Linked DNA regions of Homo sapiens: regions 1 and 2 are each linked to region 3. The links are contacts of gene promoters, found by promoter capture Hi-C in blood cells and fetal thymus (Javierre and others, 2016). All regions are on one chromosome and are shown on one strand. The core of a region is centred on a gene start or on the middle of the fragment in contact, and the rest is flanking DNA. Distances in the headings are between cores, read along the strand shown. Region 1 has its middle 83 kb from the start of OAT. Region 2 has its middle 120 kb from the start of OAT. Region 3 holds the start of CHST15 (carbohydrate sulfotransferase 15).

The links. Contacts are between HindIII fragments. The CHiCAGO score rates a contact against its expected background, and 5 or more counts as called.
Region 1: a contact is called between a fragment that was not itself captured here and the fragment with the promoter of CHST15 in region 3, in 2 of 17 cell types (monocytes and neutrophils). The highest score is 6.1, in monocytes.
Region 2: a contact is called between a fragment that was not itself captured here and the fragment with the promoter of CHST15 in region 3, in 2 of 17 cell types (neutrophils and M0 macrophages). The highest score is 7.6, in neutrophils.

What each region holds. Positions count from the first base shown.
Region 1 is chr10:124,333,874-124,338,332 of GRCh38, forward strand. No RefSeq gene overlaps it. Among named protein-coding and RNA genes, the nearest start is that of OAT, 83 kb to the right of the region's middle. The HindIII fragment of the contact is 8,214 bases long and covers 1-4,459 here.
Region 2 is chr10:124,298,129-124,302,351 of GRCh38, forward strand. No RefSeq gene overlaps it. Among named protein-coding and RNA genes, the nearest start is that of OAT, 120 kb to the right of the region's middle. The HindIII fragment of the contact is 626 bases long and covers 1,979-2,604 here.
Region 3 is chr10:124,091,259-124,095,411 of GRCh38, forward strand. It overlaps CHST15 (carbohydrate sulfotransferase 15), which reads right to left and starts at 2,340. Exons shown (of 8, transcript NM_001270764.2): 1 at 2,211-2,340. The HindIII fragment of the contact is 12,111 bases long and covers 1-4,153 here.

The sequences.
Region 1 (4,459 bases), core at 621-3,120, 240 kb after region 3:
GTAACAATTCCTAAGAAAAGGAACTACTAAAACTCATCTGAGATGAAATCATAATCTGAATAGTCCTGTAACTACTAAGGAAATTGAATGTATAATTTTTAAAAAACCTTCCAAAAAAGAAATTTCCAAGCATAAAGGGTTTCACTGGTGAGTTCTAGAAAATATTTAAAAAATAACCCCAATTCTACACAATCACTTCCAAGAGATAAAAGCAGAGAGAACATTTCCCAACTCCTTTTATGCTGCCAGCATTACTCTGCAATCAAAACCAGACAATACAAGAAAACTACAAACCGAAATCCCTCATAAAGAGAGATGCAAAAGTTCTCAAGAAAACATTATCACATCAAATCTAGCAATATAAAAAGAATTATATGTCATAAGTAAAAGTACAGTTTATCCTGGGAATGAAAGCCTGCTTCAATATTTGGAAATAAATCAGTGCAATCCACCACATTAATGGTTTAAACAAGAAAAATTACATGATCATATCTATTATGGGGCTGAATTATTTACCCCAAAAAAATCACATGTTTAAGTCTCAACCCCCAGCACCTCAGGATGTGAATGTATTCAGAAACAGGGTCTTTAAAGAGGTAACTAAGTTAAATGACATCATTATGGTGGGCCCTATTCTAATATGACTGTTGTCCTGCTGGAAAGTATATTTATCCATTCTCATGCTGCTAATAAAGACATACCCAAGACTGGCTCATTTATAAAGGAAAGAGGTTTAATTGACTCACAGTTCTTCATGGCTGGGGAGGCCTCAGGAAATTCACAACCATGGCAGAAGGGGAGGCAAACACGTCCTTCTTCACATGGCGGCAAGAGAGAAGAATGATAGACAAGTGAAGGGGGAAACCCCTTATAAAACCACCATATCTCATGAGAAAACTTACTGTCATGAGAATAGAATGGAGCAAACCACCCCTATGATTTGATTACCTCCCACCGGATCCCTCTCACCACAAGTGGGGATTATGAGGACTACAATTCAAGACGAGATTTGGGTGGGGACACAGCCAAGCCATATCAAAAGGAAGAAGAAATTTGGACTGTCTTAGTTCAGGCCAGTATAACAAATAACCGCAGACTGGGTAACTTAAATGACAAACATTCATAGCTCAGTTCTGAAGACTGGAAGTCAGAGATCAGGGTGCCAGAACTCATGGTTGGGTTCTGGTGAGGGCCCTATTCCAGGCTGCAGACAGCTGACCTCTCCCTGTAACCTCACATGGTGGAAAGAGGGCAAGTTAGCTTTGGCCTCTTTTTTTTTTTTTTTTTTTTTTTTCTCAGAGACAAGGTTCCACTCTGTCACCCAGACTGGAAGGCAGGGGTATGATCATAGCTCACTGCAGCCTCGACCTGTCAGGCTCAAGCCATCCTCCCACCTCAGCCTTCCAAGTAGCTGGGCCCACAGGCATGCACCACGCCCCCAGCTAATTTTTTTTTTTAGAGACGGGATCTTGCTATGTTGCCCAGGCTGGTCTTGAACTCCTGAGCTCAAGACATCCTCCCACCTTGGTCTCCAAAAGTGCTGGGATTACAGACATGAGCCACCACACCCAGCCTTGGCCTCTTCTTATAAGGACGCTAATCTCATTCATGAGGTCTCCAAAGGCCCAACCTCCTAACACCATCACTTTGGAGGTTAGGATTTTAACATAGAAATTTTGGAGGACGCAAACACAGACCATAGCAAACACAGATACACGAAGAGGAAAGACCACGTGGAGATACAGGGAGAGCATGGCCATCTGCAAACTGAGGAGCCAGGCTTCAGAGGAAACAGCCCTGTTGAGCTTGATCTCAGACTTCTAGGCTTCAGGATTGTGAGAAAATAAGTTTCTGTTGTTTAAGTCATCTAATCTGTAGTACTTTGTTATGGCAGCCCTAGCAAGTTCATACAATAACTATTAGTGCAGAAAAAGCATTTGACAAAATTCAAATCCATTTATGATGTCTTAGAAAAAAACTCTTAGCAAACTAGAAATAGAAGGAAACTCCTTAACTCAATGAAGGGCAAATACAAAAAAACTATTCCTAACATCCTACTTAATCGTTAAATACCGAATGCTTCCTCCCAAATAAATAGCAAGACAAAGGTGTCCACTCTCACCACTCCAATCCAACATCATCCAGGAAGTCCTAGCCAGTGCAATAAGGAAAGAAAAATAATTCGAAGGCATACATATTGGAAAGGAAGAAACGAAACTGCCCATTTAGAGATGACATAATTATCTACATAGAAAATCCCAAGTAATCTAAAAATAAAGTCTGATAAAACTAGTGATTTTAGCAAGGTTGAAAGAGAAAAGATCAACACCACAAAAATCAATCACATATGCATGTGTATACCAGTATTGAACAATTATAAACCAAAATTTGAAAAACCAATACATTTTACTAAATCTCCAAAAAAAAAATACTAAGCATAAATAAAACAAAACATGTAGAGAATCTGCATGCTGGAAACCACAAAAGCTGATGGAACAAATCCAAGAAGCCAACCTCATGTTGAAATTTGATCCTCAATGTTGGAGGTGAGGCCTAATGGGAGGTGACTGGGTCATGGGGACAGATCCCTCACGAATAGATTAATGACATCCCTGCGGGAATGGGGGGTACACAAGAGTGGGGATAAGTAAGTTCTCACTCTATTAGTTACCAAGAGAGCTGGCACCTCCCTATAAATCAAGAGGTATACCATGGTCATGAATGGGAAGACTCACAAAAGTAAGAAGACAATTCTCAGATAGACATGTAGATTTAACACAATTCTAATCAAAAATCCCACAAGGATCTTTATCTTCTTTTTCTTTTTTGTGAGGCAGAGTCTCGCTCTGTCGCCCAGGCTGGAGTGCAGGGGTGCGATCTCGGCTCACTGCAACCTCTGCCTCCCGGATTCAAGCGATTCTCCTGCCTCAGCCTCCCAAGTAGCTGGGACTACAGGCGTGTGCCACCATGCCTGGCTAAGTTTTGGTATTTTTAGTAGAGACGAGGTTTCACCACATTAGCCAGGATGGTCTCAATCTCCTGACCTCTTGATCCACCTGCCTTGGCCTCCCAAAGTGCTGAGATTACAGGCGTGAGCCACCGTGCCGGGCCGAGGATCTTTATATATATAAGCAAGCTGATTCCAAAATTTTAATAGAAAGGTAAAGAAACTAGAATACCCAAAGCAATTTTGAAAAGGAAAATAAAGTTGGGAAAATCACACTACCTGATTTTTTAACTTACTAAAAACTACATTAATCAGCCAGGCACAGTGGCTCACGACTGTAATCTCAGCACTTTGGGGAGGCAGGTGGATCACCTGAGGTCAGGAGTTTGAGACCAGCCTGGCTAACATGCATATGAGATTGATTTTTGTGTTGATCTTTTCTCTTTCAACCTTGCTAAAATCACTAGTTTGATCAGACTCTCTCTACTAAAAAGACAAAAAATTAGCCAGACATGGTGGTGGGCACCTGTAATCCCAGCTACTCGGGAGGCTGAGGCAGGAGAATCACTTGAACCCGGGAGGCGGAGGTTGCAGTGAGCTGAGGTCATACCACTGCACTCCAGCCTGGGCGACAGAGCGAGACTCTGTCTCAAAAAAATAAAAATAAAAACTGCATTAATCAAGACAGTGTGGTATTGTGAAGGGATGGATACATGGATCAACGGAACATAATAGAGCACCTAGACATAGACCCACACAAATATGGCCAAGAGTTTTGGCAAAGGTGCAAAAGCAAGTTAATGGATACAGGCTAATCCTTTCAGCAATGGCGTTGGAACAGTTCACCCCTCACCACGCTTTCTGCCCTGCCTGGCACTGACGGGGGACTCCTTGCTCAAAGGGCAGGGTCACCAAGAGCCCCTGATATGGTTTGGATTTGTGTCCCCACCCCCAAATCTCATGTCGATTTGTAATCCCCACGTGTTGGAGGAGGGGCCTGGTGAGAGGTGATTGGATCATGGGGGCAGATTTCCCCCTTGCTGTTCTTGCGATAGTGAGTGAGTTCTCATGAGATCTGCCTGCTTGAAAGTGTGTAGCACTTTTCCCCTTCGCTCTCTCTTTTTCTCTCTCTCTCTCTCCTGTTGCCATGGTAAAGACATACTTGTTTCCCCTTCATCTTCCGCAAGGATTGTAAGTTTCCTGAGGCCTCCCAGCCATGTTTCCTGTACAGCCCAAGGAACTGTGAGTCAATTAAACCTCTTTTCTTCATAAATTACCCAGTCTTGGATAGTTCTTTATAGCACTGTGAGAACAGACTAATACAGCCCCTCACAAACCAATCTGACACCTGGCAGCACCCAGCACTCACCCTGCAGACAGGACAGGCCAGAGTCTGGTGGAGGGAACCAGCATGTGTAGAAGAGATGGAAGAAGGATGACACAGGTCCCGGGCAGAGCAGCTCTGCACACTTTTGGCACCCAAGCAGAAGTCCTTCCCTTTTTTTCTTGGAG
Region 2 (4,223 bases), core at 1,042-3,541, 210 kb after region 3:
AGAAAACAGCTGGTATAGAGCAATGGTTCACAGAGCCCAGCACAGAAAACCACCTGGGGATGTTTCAAAGCACCCCTTTTCCCCAGAGCCCCACTTCAAACTTATTAAATCAGAGTCTGCAGGCGTGAGGCCAAGACAATGGCATGGCCACTTTATGAAGTCTACCCAGATGATCCTAACATGCACACGGTGGGAGAAACGCAGGGGTAGAGTCAAGCTCTCATATTTTTATATGATATTATGGAGCATGACTCAAAGCCTCCATCTAATTTCTGGTTTAGGAAAGATCATCTTTATCCCAGAAGTGAACAAGGTCACAAATCTGTTGGGTTTTTATAGAATACATATCGCAAGCCACTTTCCAATTCTAAAACTAATAAATGAATGCAAAAGATGAATAATTTAAATATCAATTTCATGCACATCGTAGATGCTCAAAAAATATTCATTGACTCAATTAATCATCCAATCGATCAATATAATCCTAGTTCTACAGCTACCCAAAATACTTCTGCATCTCCCCCAGTAAACTATGAGTTCCTTGAGGGCAGGTATGGGGACCCCAGCCCCCATGCAAAGGACATTTGATGAATAAAAAAATGCCTTGATGTGCAAAGCAAATGACCCTGAAGGCTCATGGCTATCTCTGTATTTTCTAGGTGTGCAGTGGTTTTCTAGTTGAACAGAAAAATGCTAGTACGTAACGAATGAATCCATCCATTGTTGGAAGGATGATGATGTTACGATTATAGAAAAAATCCTTATTAGTCAGCTTGTCCAGGTTATTGTGCTTTTTTTTGGAGGCTTTTCAACTGAACATTAACCCAGAGGCTCATGGCCAGCTCCCAGCCACACATGGACCGGCATGTCACAGCTCCCAGCCACACATGGACTGGCATGTCACAGCTCCCAGCCACACATGGACCGGCATGTCAGGTGCCCAGTGCTGCTCTGTGCACTGCCACCCAAGAGGCATGCCTCAGCCTTGCCTGAGCAGCCCTCACAGGGCACATGGCCTCTGCCCAGTGACCAGTGGAGGGTGGAAGGTGGAACCATGGCCTATGCATCACCCCTGTCTCGTGATCTCAGCTGCTTTGGCCTCTTGGTTGCAAGAGCTACAGCTCAGTGATAAAGAACAAGGGCTCTGGGGTCAGACAGGCTAGGGGTCTAGAGCCTGGTCCACCACTAGCTGTGTGACTAGGGCAAATCACTGCACCTCTCTGAGCCCCAATGAAGATGATGTCAACAACAGTACCTTCCCTGAAAGTCATTATGAGATGAAAATTAAATGATGCCTGTGGAGTCTGAATGCCAGGCCTGGCACAGAAAAAGGGCTCAGGATGTGGCAGGTGATGGCGCAGAGATCGAGCCGCAGGACCCTGGGCTGCGACTTAGTGACTGTGCCACTCAGAGCAAGTCACTTACGTTGTTAAGCCGGGTTTTTGCATCTGTGGAACAGAACCAATAACAGAGCCCATCATAAGATCACTGATGAGCCAGTGCTGAGAAGGACCAATCACGGTGTTCGCCATAGCTGTTATTATCACCTTTGCAGGATCAGGGTTGATAATGGCTGCCATTTATTATTAATATAATCCCCAGAAACTGACTCTTCTCCCAGCAGGGGTGCGGTCATGGTTCATGTGCTGACAACATTCTAGAGACTTGGAAACAGTTTTCTTCCCACCAGCACCAGCCCTGCCAGAACCTGCTGCAACTGTTTTTGTAATCAATGGAAACGTGCACAGTCCAAGGGAGGTGGGGCAGAGAGGAAGCAGGCACATCCCAGGCTTGCATCTGCCCAGGCAGAACCAAGGCACCAGCCTCCTGCCACCCACCAAGGCCAGAGGGAGGAACAAATTCAGGTCCCCTTGCGGGATGACGGCCCCCTCCCCACATAGCCTGAACCAACTCAGCAACTGATTTCTCAGCAATGGATTTCTAGGTGAGCAATGGATTAAGACTTTTCTGGTCTTAAAGCTTGAAATTCACCTCATTTCCCCAATCCCCAAAGGGGAGCAAGTCCGTGTGCAGCCTTCCAAAACCAATGAGTCTGCTTCTAGAACCATCCCAGTCGCCACCTCTGCTGCTTCCTCCTCCTCTTCCCAGGCCCCTGAAGCAATCCGTGGGCCCAGGGTACTTGAGCCAAAGAACAAGGTGCTAGGCCAGGGTGACACAGGCTGGGCCAGCTGTGGAGGACACAAGACTCCTTCCCCAGTGCACACACAAGTCCTGGTCCAGATGAGAGAAAGGAAGACAGAACATTCCTCTGGCAAAAGGTGACATAGTGGCATTCACGACCAACCCCTTGGCACTCAGGTGATGCTGCCCTTGAACAAATGTCTGAGAGCAGCCTTCTCCCAGTACAGACACGATCAGCTCTCATCCCGGGTCAGGACTGTGGATGCGTAGCTCTCCAGCAAATCACAAACTTCCTAACGTAGCCAGCTGGTCAGTCTTGGCCAAGCCCAAATTCCCCCTCCCCCCAGGCAGCCGTGTGGCATTCTGAAAGGAGTGAAACTGACCCAATAGGCCCACAGACAGTTGTTGTTGTTGTTGTTGTTTAATAAACATAGAAATTGAAATTGACTTTTCTGGGCTTAAAGCTTGAAACTCACCAGATCCAGACAATGAAACACCAGGCCCCTCGTTCATCATGATTCCCTACTTAGCCCTCCTGAGTTCCTGTTTTCCCATACGTAGTTACATTTCTTCCCTGCTATATAAACCCCTTATTTTAGTCAGTTAGGGAGATGGATTTGAGACTGATCTCCCAACTCCTCAGCCGCAGCACCCGATTAAAGCCTTCTTCCTTGGCAACAATCATTGTCTCTGTGATTGGCTTTCTGTGTGGTGAGCAGCAGAACCTAGACTGAACCCCTGGTGTTTCAGTAACAGACCTTGTCTGAAGACCTGGGTGCCACCTGGGTGAGCCCTGGCTGGCTGAGTCTTCAGACAGTGTTGAACCTCTCTCTGCCTGAGATGAAGATAAAAGTAACCGATGCTGCTTACTGACCTCACTGGGTACTACAAGGTGCTGTGAGACAAAAATACGGACGTGCTCTGCAAACTCAAGTCCTCGTCAGGATTAGTGACCATTCAGAGCCCTTCCTCTGGTCCTAGGGGAGCCCCTGGCAGAGGACGGTAAACTTGAATCCCCTGGGGCCCTCAGGAGCAGGAACTCAGAGCAGCCCTCTGAAAATCTGAAATTTCTGCAGCATCTCTTGTTTGATCTTCAAAGCTCATACAGACTTTATGTTTCACTCATAATACATCGGTCTGTTTTATTACTAAGAGGACATTGTAAAATTAGCTACCATCACCGATGCACCTGGTCAGTGATGCCCCAGCAAGTTGTGACAGGCACACTCGGTGGCTGTCCCAGACACCAGCTCTCACTGCAGTTTGAGTGGCATAGTGGCTGTGGAGACCCTCACAGTTCTTTCCAGGAAGAGCTCAAATGGCCAACGTGAGCCCCATTATTATAGGTCCTGGCTGGTCTCTGTGTAGCCAAGATCATGCAGTAAACCCTTGCCTAAGTTTGGGCTCCCCCAGAAGCAGAGCCTCAGACAAGGACTTGGTGCAGGTGATTTGGGGTGAGGGGAAAGTGAGCCCAGGAAGCAGGAGGGAGTGAGTGAAAGAGTAAGAAAAGGAAAGAGAAAAAGCCAATAATACCCAAAGGCTTCATTGAAGCTGCCGCTGTGGGTCACTGGGACCTGGTTCCTCTGGAAGGGATGCACAGAACGCCCCGAGATTGCCCCACCCCATCCAATGCGAGTCAGAGCCAGCTCCCGCGGTCAGTGCTGGCAGATTCCAGGGGGTTGGGCTCACCCACGCTCCCAGGCTGGACTGGCACGTGGCTAAGTGGGCTCCCTGGGGCCCTGGAGCACAAAGTGAAAAGATGCCCTGTGCTCGTGGAGTGGGGATATTGTCAGGATGCAAAGGTCTGGGCACAAATGGAACCTTCCAGTCAGAGCTAGCTTCAGTCACATTGGTCCAGGCCTGGCTGCTCCTATAACCATCAACCCTCTGGGAGGCCTAGAGCTCAAGTCCTTCCTCATAGCAGAGTTAACCTTGGGCTGAAACAGAAGCACGCTTTAACTGTGGGAGGGAAGCTTTCTAAGTCATATTACCCACTCAGCCTTGATCCAGCACCTCCATGGATGGTGCTTCCTTGATAACTCAGGCTCATCATGGATAGAGCCACGGCCCAGAGATGAGAG
Region 3 (4,153 bases), core at 1,090-3,589:
GTTCAACATTCAGTTTGTAAAATTAGTAAGTGCCATGTTCTGGAAGGGAGGGTTCCTGATTTTGCAAGGTTGCCGGTCCTGGGAGGAGAAGCAGGAAAGCGGGGGATGGATAATGGTCCAGGAAGGTCCAAGGAGGGTCCAGGAGAAACGCTGGGCAAATCTCTAGGCCTCAGTTTACTTCAGGGCCCCTCGGGGGTGCAGATGCCCTCCGAGGCCTTTCTGCCCCAACGCTGGGTGGCTACCCTAACCCACCGAGGCATCCCACAACACTCAGGAATTGCAGCTGATAAAGAGGGGCTGGGGGCACTGCTAGGGCGCCCAGAGGCAAGGTTAGCCCCTTTGCTCAGCCTCACTGACCGGCTTGTCACATCCCTCTGCGGGGCATCCCGGAGCCACACTTCATTCCCGAGAACTCGGTACAATTAACTTAACCAACGTGAACAAGGCGAAGGCGCCCAGCTGTCACAGCGGCTCCGCGCACGCAGGCAGACGAAGAAGGGCCCCCGCCCCCAGGAGCTGGTCCCAGCCTCCAGCCTGGCAGCCTCCTTCGAAGACTTCCCTACACTGGGCGCGGACCTCCAGCCGCCAGCAGCCGGCAACCCAGCCCCAGCCTTCCTCCTCTATACCCGCCGTCCCAGCCGCGCCGGCCGGCCCCGGGCGCAGGGCGGGCGGGAACGTGGGCACCCGGACAGCGACGGGGAGGTCAAGCAGCTGTGCCCAGGACCCGGGCGGCTCCGAAGCCTCAACACGCACACACTCGCGCGCACGCCGGCCCATCGGTTGCCTGGAGGAGTCGGGAAGGTGCTTCCACGGCTCTTCATTCATTTTCCCAAAGGCAAGGTTCCCTTCGCCCCGGCGCCTCTATCCTGCCATCCCAGGGGGCCAATTGCGCCACAGCCCGCCACCCAGCCACCCACAGCCACCGCGTCCTATCTCCCGGCACACACAACCCAACAGACTCGCATTACATCTCCACCGCCAGCGTCGCCTCCGCGCCCCGGCCGCTGCCATCCGGCTCCCCAGCTTCGCCGCCCCGCAGCCCCGGCTCCCCGCCTCTGGCCTCACCGCGCGGCTCAGAGCTGCCTCGCTCGGCTCGCCGCACCAAGGCCGGCCAGAGACGCCGCCACCGCCGGGAAGCGCCGGCAACTCCCGAGTCACGCCGCCTCCCGAGACGCGGCGGGGCGCAGGGAGGGGACAGCAGTGGGGGCGGGGCGGGGAGGAGGAAGGAGGAGGGGGCGGGGAGCAAAAGTTCACACCGCTCGGGGCTCAGCCGCTCCCCTATCTCTTCCCAGGCCCGCCCCCGCCATCCCCCTTCCCTGAACCGGGTCCCACGGGCTTAGGCGCGGGAGAGCTCTGGCCTCCCCGCCCGGAACCGCCGCAAGGCTAGAGCCAGGGTTCTGGAAGCGCATCCGAGCTCGCAACCGGGGAGAGAGTGGCGGATGCCCACTTACCTGCCCCGGGCCGCGCCTGGAAACTTCCCCAAAGTGCGATAGGGGTGTGGGGGCGGAGCGCAAGGCTGGGGGGAATCCCCGTCCCCTACCGCCAAACGACGCGCGCTCACACCGTGAAAGCACTGGTCTGTCCGTCGGTCGGTCCCCCGCCTGCGGCTCCCAGAGCTGGGCGGTGCAGGGGCGCCCCGATTCCGACTACTGGGCTCCTTCTCCCGGACAGCCCGCCGGTGCGTTCCACGCGGCTTGCGCCCCCCGCCGGCCTCCGGCTATCCACGGCGCCACCACGCCACTGCTCGGTCCCCTGTCCCCTCGCTCCGGCCGCGTCCTCTCTGCGAGGGAGGGGGCGTGTGTCGCCGCTGGGTAACCCTTCCCGCGGGGTCCTCAAGCGCGCAGGGCGCCCGGAGCGCGGCCAGGACCAATGGCGAAGGGACTCCTCCCGCTGGGGATCGCTGAAGCCTCGGGGAGGCCGGGCCAAGGAGCCCGGGGCCCAAACCTGCCTCGGCTCGTCGAGCTCGCAAGTTCATTGTCTGCCTGGGCCGCCGCCGCCACCGCCACCGCCACCACCGCGCCGGGAGCGCCGCGGGGAGTGAGGCTGCGCGCCGCCTCCGCCGGCCCGGACTCCCTACGCCCAGCCCCGGCCGCCGCCGGCGCTGCCTGGCCCGAACCCGCGGAGGGGCGCCGGAGCCCCGAGCCCAGGGCCAGACCTCCTACCGCCGCTCCTCGCCGACCCCACCTCGGCGTCTGGCACCTAACTTGTACCTGAGAAGCCTGAGTCCAGCCCGGGAGCCTCTGCGGCTCCGGCTCCGCGGGAGCGCGCCCAGCCCCGAGCCTCTAGCCCCGCATCCAGGGCGCGTCAACCTGACTCCCCGAGCGCTGGGAGGAAAAGTTTGGGAGTGACGTGCAGACGGCGAATGAAACATCCGAGGAGAACCCTCCCCCCGCCCCATGTCGCGCTGACACACATCAGCTCCAGTCTGGAATGTGAGATCAAGGCGTGTGCGCCGAGCGGTGGGTTTGGCCCCTGCCCCCTCCCCCTCCGAGTCAACACTGCTTGTGTGTTGCGGTGATTCCAAATAAAAGCACATCGAAACCCCTGAAATCTGGCAGTGACACCTTGCCAGATACTTCTTTTTTTTAAAGACAGAGTTTCGCTCTTGTTGCCCAGGCTGGAATGCAATGGCGCGATCTCGGCTCACTGCAACTTCCGCCTCCCGGGTTCAAGAGAGTCTCCTGCCTCAGCCTCCCGGGTTCAAGAGAGTCTCCTGCCTCAGCCTCCCGAGTAGCCGGGATTACAGGCATGCGCCACCACGCAAAATAGGCTAATTTTATATTTTTAGTACAGACGGGGTTTCTCCATGTTGGTCAGGCTGGTCTCGAACTCCCGACCTCAGATGATCCGTCCGCCCCCCCAACCCAAAGTGCTGGGATTACAGGCGTAAGCCACCGCGCCCGGCCGCCAGAGACATCTTTAAGGAACTTGGCGGTCTGGAGCCAGCCCGTACATTAATATTCAAGGCCACAGCGCTGGTGAGTTCGGCGCCCTCTGTTGTATTTTTGCATCCCGGGAAGGCTGGCCCGGCTCTTTGGCCCGGCGTGTTTTGCTTCCGCGGGGGAGGTAAAGCTCTGCAGGACCCCGATCGCCACGGCCTGCCGCAGTGGCCTGGAGTCGGCTGCCCCAGGGAACCACCTGGACAGCCCGAGGGCAAGAAAGCGGCACCAGTGGCCGACTCCACTGACTCTGGGCTGAAGATGCCATCAGTTAAAGAAAAGACACATGAAATTCTGGCAGATTCGCTCAGAGGGCGCTTGGAGCACCAAGCCCAGCCTCTCAGGAAACTGAGGTCCAAGGGACAAAAAGAATCTGCAGTCTCTTGCCGGCCTGTGTCCCCGTGGCCAGAGTCCAGCACCCTCTTCCTCGAAGCAACCAGAAGTGGAAATGAAAGTGCTCCGTTAACTGTAGACTACATGCCACCGAAGGGTCATTCCTGACAGTGGCTTCTCCCCATTATCTCTTTATTGCCGGAGGCTTCATCTCGCCCCCCTGAAGCTACAGTCCACCCTGAGGTCATAAACTTCTGCTCAGCACCCATGGCAACTAATGCAGAGGTCACCATCAGAGGATTATAACTGCAGATGGGAAACCGGGATGAGAGGGGAGTTCTTTAAAATCCTGTCTTGTTTTCCTGCAAATAATGCCTCTTACATAAAATCTGCGAAGAAAGATGAATGCAGCAAAGAGACTTGCCTTAGAATCTCAGACTAGATTGCTTTTTCCATATAGACTCCACTTAGTGATTTTTGTTCTTTATTTTTTTTTTAAACAAAAACCTATTTCTGAAAATACAACGAGCTGCTTTTTGCAGGGTTCACAATTCCCAATAGATGATGATGCCATTTTTCAAGGTCTCACACACGTTGTGGCTTTGGGGCTTATTTATTAGCTCCCAAGAAAAGCCTGCCTTTCAGTGAGGTTTATATACTCGAGTAATTGCATCAGGGGACACAGAGCAGGTTGCTGTTAAAGAGGGTTGGTTGTACATGCGTCTGCAAGGAAGGCCCTGGGCCAGGCAGCTGTCAGACCAGTGTGCAACGGGTTTAAACAAACACAGGGAAGGGTCTGTGGAAACAGCAAGGAGGAAATCCCCTTCTGTAAGGGTGTGTGGAACATTATTCCAGGGCCACACATACTGCCAGGGAATAAT